Regions from separate parts of the Homo sapiens genome. Here region 2 is linked to region 1. The links are contacts of gene promoters, found by promoter capture Hi-C in human tissues and cell types (Jung and others, 2019). All regions are on one chromosome and are shown on one strand. Each heading gives the region's core, a stretch centred on a gene start or on the middle of the fragment in contact. The rest is flanking DNA. Distances are from core to core; before and after follow the strand shown.

Region 1 (3,170 bases), core at 456-2,955:
CAGCACTTTGGGAGGCTGAGGCAGGTGGATCACTTGAGGTCAGGAGTTCGAGACAAGTCTGGCCAACATGGTGAAACCCCGTCTGTACTAAAAATACACAAATTAGCCAGGCACGGTGGCGGATGCCTGTGATCCCAGCTACTGCTCAGGAGGCTGAGACAAGGGAATCACTTGAACCTGGGAGGTGGGGTTGTAGTGAGCCAAGACTGCACCACTACACTACAGCCTGGGCTATGGGAGAGAAACCTTGTCTCAAAAAAAAAAAAATGCAGACAGCGAGATGGCTGGACACATGGACACCACCCTTGGGATATAGCACCTGCCACAGGGCACAGACCTCAACATCATCATGACGCTGAGAAGACACATGTGGGCTCAGATGCGTGGACATGTGGTTTGTGGTTTATGGATCCATGTGCGTCTACAGACACAGAGACCCAGAGACAAAGACAGACAACGTGAATACACCGGCTGCAGCTAGGCGGGTGTGTGGACATGTGGGTACACGCACATACGTCCACATGGGTATATGGACACGAATGTGTGGCCACCGGATCCAGACCCAGGACACAAAAGGGGCCAAGCCCACAGGGGTATGGTGTTGGGCACACATAGACCCCCAGGTGAGGCACACAGACAGGCGGACACATCCACAGCCAGCTGGAAGCAGACCGAGAAATTTCCACAGATGGAAATGGTCAGAGAATTAATGACAATCGCAGTAACAGTAATAAGAGTACCAGAGAAGGCCAGGCGCAGTGGCTCACACCTGTAATCCCAGCACTTTGGGAGGCTGAGGCGGGTGGATCTCCTGAGGTCGGGAGTTTGAGACCAGCCTGACAAACATAGAGAAGCCCCATCTCTACTAAAAATACAAAATTGGCCAGGCGTGGTGGCGCATGCCTGTAATCCCAGCTACTCGGGAGGCTGAGGCAGGAGAATCACTTGAACCCGGGAGGCAGAGGTTGCGGTGAGCAGAGATCATGCCATTGCACTCCAGCCTGGGCAACGAGAGTGAAACTCCGTCTCAAAAATAAAAAAGTACAGAGAAAATGCATGCGTGTGTGCACAGGGGTGTGCATGGCAGTGTTGGGGTGTCAGTTCCGACGGGTGGAGCTGGCATCGTCTGGTACTACACATGCCATAGCATACTTCGTCCCCTATGAAGAGACTGCCCTTATTTTGTAGATGAAGACACTGAGGTTCAGAGAGGTGAATTCACTTGCCCAAGGCTGGGAGCAGCAACCAGTCAAGCCAGCTGCTCTCAGCCTGTGCCCTGTCCTACACACACACACACACACACACACACACACACACACAGACACACAGTGACCCACAATGACACAGGGGAGCCCCCCTCACCTCCACCTGCTCTCAGCCCCCCGGTCCCACTCACAGGCAGGCGGGTGACCATCTCTCCTAGACGCCAGTGCAGCTGCAGGAGGAACCAGCCTTGGACGGCCAGCCCGGCCCCCATCAGCAACAGCAAGAGACCCAGACCCACCCGGGCCACACTGCACGACTGTCTCCGGTGGCTTCGTCCCAGCCTCGTGAATGGGATGTCGGTCTGTCCATCCACCACAAACACTGAGGGCCGTACGACACTCTCCTCCATGCCCAAGGTGTCTGGAGCAGGGCTGACACGCCTGGGTCCTTCAACCTCAGAGGAAACCGAAATTGCTCAACACTCCTGGGCTGTGCACGCTGCGGACAGGCACCCGTGGGCCGCCTTTAGAGCTGGGGTTCAGCCCCACCCCTTCCCCCACTCACCCTCCTCTTCTTCCGGTACCCGCCGCCCCCGGTCTTGGCCCTGTCTCACTCTCACTCATACAGACTCTCACACTTTCCAGAGGCTTCTGAAAATGTGACTCAGGTGGCAAGTGCAGTGGGGAGCCCCCAGCTTTCCCTTCTTGGATGCTTCATTCGCTTGGGGCCACCAAATATCGACTGAGGACTTTCTGCCCATGCCAGGCTCTGCTCTCGGTGTGGGGGATGCAGCAATGAACAACAGCAAGAAGGGTCCCTGCTCCTCTTCTGGTGGAGCCAGAGAGACAAGAAACCTCGTAAACAAGAAAATAATACGTTGTGGGTTTTTTTGTTCGTTTATTTGTTTTGTTTTTGAGATGGAGTCTCGCTCTGTTGCCCAGGCTGGAGTGCAGTGGCGCGATCTCAGCTTACTACAACCTCCACCTCCTGGGTTCAAGCAATTCTCCTGCCTCAGCCTCCCAAGTAGCGGGGATTACAGGCGCGTGCCACCACGCCTGGCTGCTTTTTGTATTTTTAGTAGAGATGGGTTTTCACCATGTCGGTCAGGCTGGTCTCGAACTCCTGACCTCAAGCGATCCACCCACCTCAGCCTCCCAAAGTGCTGGGATTACAAACGTGAGCCGCACCATGCCCGGCCTTCTGTTGTGTTTTGATGTGACAAGTGCAGTGAAAAACACAAGAGTGGAATAAAGGAGTGGATGTGTGCTCTGTGTGTGTGCTTGTCTGCATGCATATATGTGTGCAGTGTGTGCATGTGAATGTGTGTATTCAGTTGTGTGCATGCAAGTGTGTATCATGTACACATGTGCAGGCGCATGCCTGTGTATCATACATGTGCTGGCATGTAAATGTGCGTGCATATGTGGGCAGGTGCATGCATATGTGTATGGTCATCTGTGTGCATGTGCATGTGGTCCATGTACATGCATGCATGTGCACGTGTGTGTATGTGTGAACATGCATCACATGTGCAAGTGGGTGTGCATATATGTGCTGTGTGCAGGTGTGTGCATGTGTGTGTGCCTGTGCATTGGTGCGTGTATGTGTGTGTGCGCACTTGCACGGGTGTGTTCATGTGTGTGGGGAGGTCCATGTATGAGTGTGCATGCATTCAAGCGTGGATTTTTTTTTTTTTCGAGACGGAGTCTCGCTCTGTCGCCCAGGCTGGAGTGCAGTGGTGCGATCTCGGCTCACTGCAAGCTCCGCCTCCCAGGTTCACGCCATTCTCCTGCCTCAGCCTCCTGAGTAGCTGGGACTACAGGCGCCCACCACCGCACCCAGCTAATTTTTTGTATTTTTAGTAGAGACGGGGTTTCACCGTGTTAGCCAGGATGGTCTCAATCTCCTGACCTCGTGATCCGCCTGCCTTGGCCTCCCAAAGTGCTGGGATTACAGGCATAAGC
Region 2 (3,170 bases), core at 294-2,793, 79 kb before region 1:
CTCAAACTCCTGGGCTCAAGTGATCCACCCGCCGCGCCCTCCGAAAGCGCTGGGATTACAGGCTCCAGCAACCACGCCAGGTCGCCTCTCTCGTTTTTATTCTCTCTTCCTCTATCTGTCTTTTTTCTCTTTCTCCGTCTCTCTCCCTCTCTCTCGTTCTGTCTCCCCCGCCTGTCTCCCTCCCTCCCTCTTCCACTCTCCCTGCGTCTCTCCCTGTTTCTTTCTTTCCCCTTCTTCTCCTGTCCCGTCTGTCCCCTCTGTCCCTCTCTCTGTTCTTTTTTCTGTCTCTCCCTCCCTTTCTCTGGGCCTCTCCCTCCCTCTCTGTCTTCTCTCTGTCTCCCCCTCTCCGTTTCCCTCCCTATCTCTCCCTCCCTCTCTCCCTCCGTCTCTGTCTGTGTCTCTTTCTCTCTGTCTCTCCCCACTTGTCTTTCTACCTCTCCTTCCTTCTCTCTCTGTGCCTCTTCTTCTCCCCGTCCCTCCACGTCCCCCGTGTTACCTGTGTGATTCAGCTGCAGCTCAGCTACGTCCCACTGGAAGAAAAGACCAGAAAACAGGGCACGGACGTAAGCAGAGAGGTTCTATGTGTCCCCTGTGCCAGGAGCTCTCTTTTCTCTGTCCATCCTCCTTTCCACCTCTCATCCCACGGCGCGCACTGGTGATTTTATTTCATTTTATTTTTTTTTACTCTTAAGACTTCTTAAAGAGGAAGCAGGTCTGAACCAGCGGGGAACGTGAAGTCGAGACCTTCAAAAGAACTTCTTCGTTTCCCGAATCGTTTTCCTGGATGTCACTGGGCGCGAGAGCACCGCGCGCAGCGGACTCTCTACGCTGCAAAGGCGCCCGGCGCGGTCCCCAAAGGGACCCCTCCCCCACCCGGAGCGAGTGGCTGGGGCCATCCCGTCCTAGGAGGCCCCAGGAAGCCCCCACGCCCAGCCTTGTGAAGCCCCCAGCAGCCTCTGAGTCAGCCTGCCGGGGGAACACCAGAGCCGAGTCATCTTCCATTTCCATGTGTGCCTACCTTTCCCATCCCGGGATCTCCCTGTACCTCCTGGCAGGGCTGCCTGTCTCGTAGCCCCTACACCGGGCAGCCTGGTCCCCGCCTCGCCTCCCTGTTCTGGTCTCTGTCTCTGCCCTACCAGATCTTCCTCTCTGGCCTCTTTGTACCCATCTCATTCTGTCTTTTCGGTCACGCGCCTCTCTATGTTTTCTTCCCAACTTTTCCATCTCAACTCACCCCAAGTGACTCGAGCGGCAGCTGCTGCTGAGCCTGTGCGAAGCGCTGGATGCACACCACGAGGCAGATCACCAAGCCCGCGACCAATGGGACCAAAGCAGCCCGCAGGACGCACCCATAGGGCCTGCGCCGCACCGAGCAGCCCGAACCCTCCTCCGGCATCGCCGCGGCGATCACCTCCGCTAGCGCAGGAGGGGCGATGGGGGCGCGGAGCGCTGCCGAGAAGGAAGGAAGGAAACTGCAGCCCCCTCCCGGGGCTCCTGGGCGTCTACTTGCTTCAACCTGTCAGGGGACCAGCCTGCCCCTCTCTGGGGATGTCCGGCCGGTCGAGGGGAGGGACTTGAGCAATTGGCGAGGGGAAATTCCCTCCAACCGCTGCCAGTCTGAAGATCCTAAAGTGGGTGGAGGCAGTTGCCAGGATGCAGGCAGTGGCCCCGGGTGAGCCTCAGAGTTGCCTGCCCCCAACCCCTCCCCGCCCGACCTTCAGGCAGGAGACATTCAATCTTCCTATTCCCCTCTCCACCTCATTCTTCTGGGGCCCATTCATTTATTCAACAAACCTCCACTGCACATTTATTAGGGATTAGATTGTGCTGTGCACTGGGGATACAGCAGACATCCAAGAATTGGGGGTGCTCCCCAAATATTCGTGTACCCCTCTCCTGCATTTTTTTGATTTGTTTTGTTTTTGAGACGGAGGTCTCCCTCTGTCACCCAGGCTGGAGTGCAGTGGCGCCATCTCAGCTCGCCGCAACCTCGATCTCCTGGGTTCAAGCGATTCTCCTGTCTGAGCCTCGCGAGTAGCTGGGAGTAACATGCGCGCGCCACCATGCCTGGCTAATTTTTTGTATTTTTAGTAGAGATGGGGTTTCACCATGTTGGCCAGGCTGGACTTGAACTCCTGACCTTGGGTGATCCACCCGCCTTGGCCTTCCAAAGTGCTGGGATTAAAGGCATGAGACACTGCACCCGGTCAGTTATCTCCTGCATTCTTGGAGACCACCTGCTTTTTTGTTTAAAGTTAAATTAAGTTAATATTTTTATTTTTTATTTTTATTTTATTTTATTATTTATTTTTTTTTTTTTTGAGACAGAGTCTCGCTCTGTCGCCCAGGCTGGAGTGCAGTGGCGCCATCTCGGCTCACTGCAAGCTCCGCCTCCCGGGTTCACGCCATTCTCCTGCCTCAGCCTCTCAAGTAGCTGGGACTACAGGCGCCCGCCACCACGCCCGGCTAACTTTTTGTATTTTTAGTAGAGATGGGTTTTCACCATGTTAGCGAGGATGGTCTCCATCTCCTGACCTCGTGATCTGCCCGCCTTGGCCTCCCAAAGTGCTGGGATTACAGGCGTGAGCCGCCGCGCCCGGCCTAAATTAATATTTTTAGAGACAGAGTGTTGCTCTGTTGCCCAGGCTGGATGCAGTGGCGCCACACAGCTCACAGCAGCCTCAAACTCCTGGGCTTCAGTGACCCTCCCATCTCAGCCTTTTGCATAGTTGGGTCTACCAGCACACGCTACCATGCCCGGCTAATTTTTTTTTTGGGGGGGGTAGAGGATAGGGTGTTACTATGTTACCAGGCTGGTCTCAAACATCTGGGCTCAAGCGATCCTGCTGCGTAGGTCCCCCAAAGTGCCGGGATGACAGGTGTGAGCCACCGCATCCAGCCTCCTGCTGCTGTTCTCGATGGCTGTAGTGGGTTAACGGTGTCCTCCCAGAATTCATGGCCTCCTGGAACTGCAGAATATGACCTCATTTTGAAATTACGGGGTTTTTTTTGCAGATATAATTAGGCTTAAATGAGGTCATACTGGATTAGAGTGGGCCCTCAGGTGGAGAGAAAAGAGGCTCATAGAGAAGGAGCCGTGTGAAAACAGAAACAGAAACTGAATGAGGCAGATGAAAGTCAAGAAACACCAAGAAGGAGCCAGGCGCAGT

Evidence for each region. Contacts are between HindIII fragments. The study calls those that stand out against the background at their distance.
Region 2: the fragment with the promoter of CD70 here is called in contact with the fragment with the promoter of TNFSF14 in region 1 in 3 of the 25 tissues and cell types used here (lymphoblastoid cells, pancreas and stomach).

What each region holds. Positions count from the first base shown.
Region 1 is chr19:6,668,455-6,671,624 of GRCh38, forward strand. It overlaps TNFSF14 (TNF superfamily member 14), which reads right to left and starts at 1,706. Exons shown (of 4, transcript NM_001376887.1): 1 at 1,397-1,706. The coding sequence starts at 1,615. RefSeq lists enhancers at 226-315, 376-565, 1,466-1,555, 1,936-2,165 and a silencer at 2,736-2,835. The HindIII fragment of the contact is 26,746 bases long and covers 1-3,170 here.
Region 2 is chr19:6,589,607-6,592,776 of GRCh38, forward strand. It overlaps CD70 (CD70 molecule), which reads right to left and starts at 1,544. Exons shown (of 3, transcript NM_001252.5): 1 at 1,235-1,544; 2 at 497-530. The coding sequence starts at 1,396. RefSeq lists enhancers at 444-813, 1,314-1,713, 2,784-3,170. The HindIII fragment of the contact is 16,779 bases long and covers 934-3,170 here.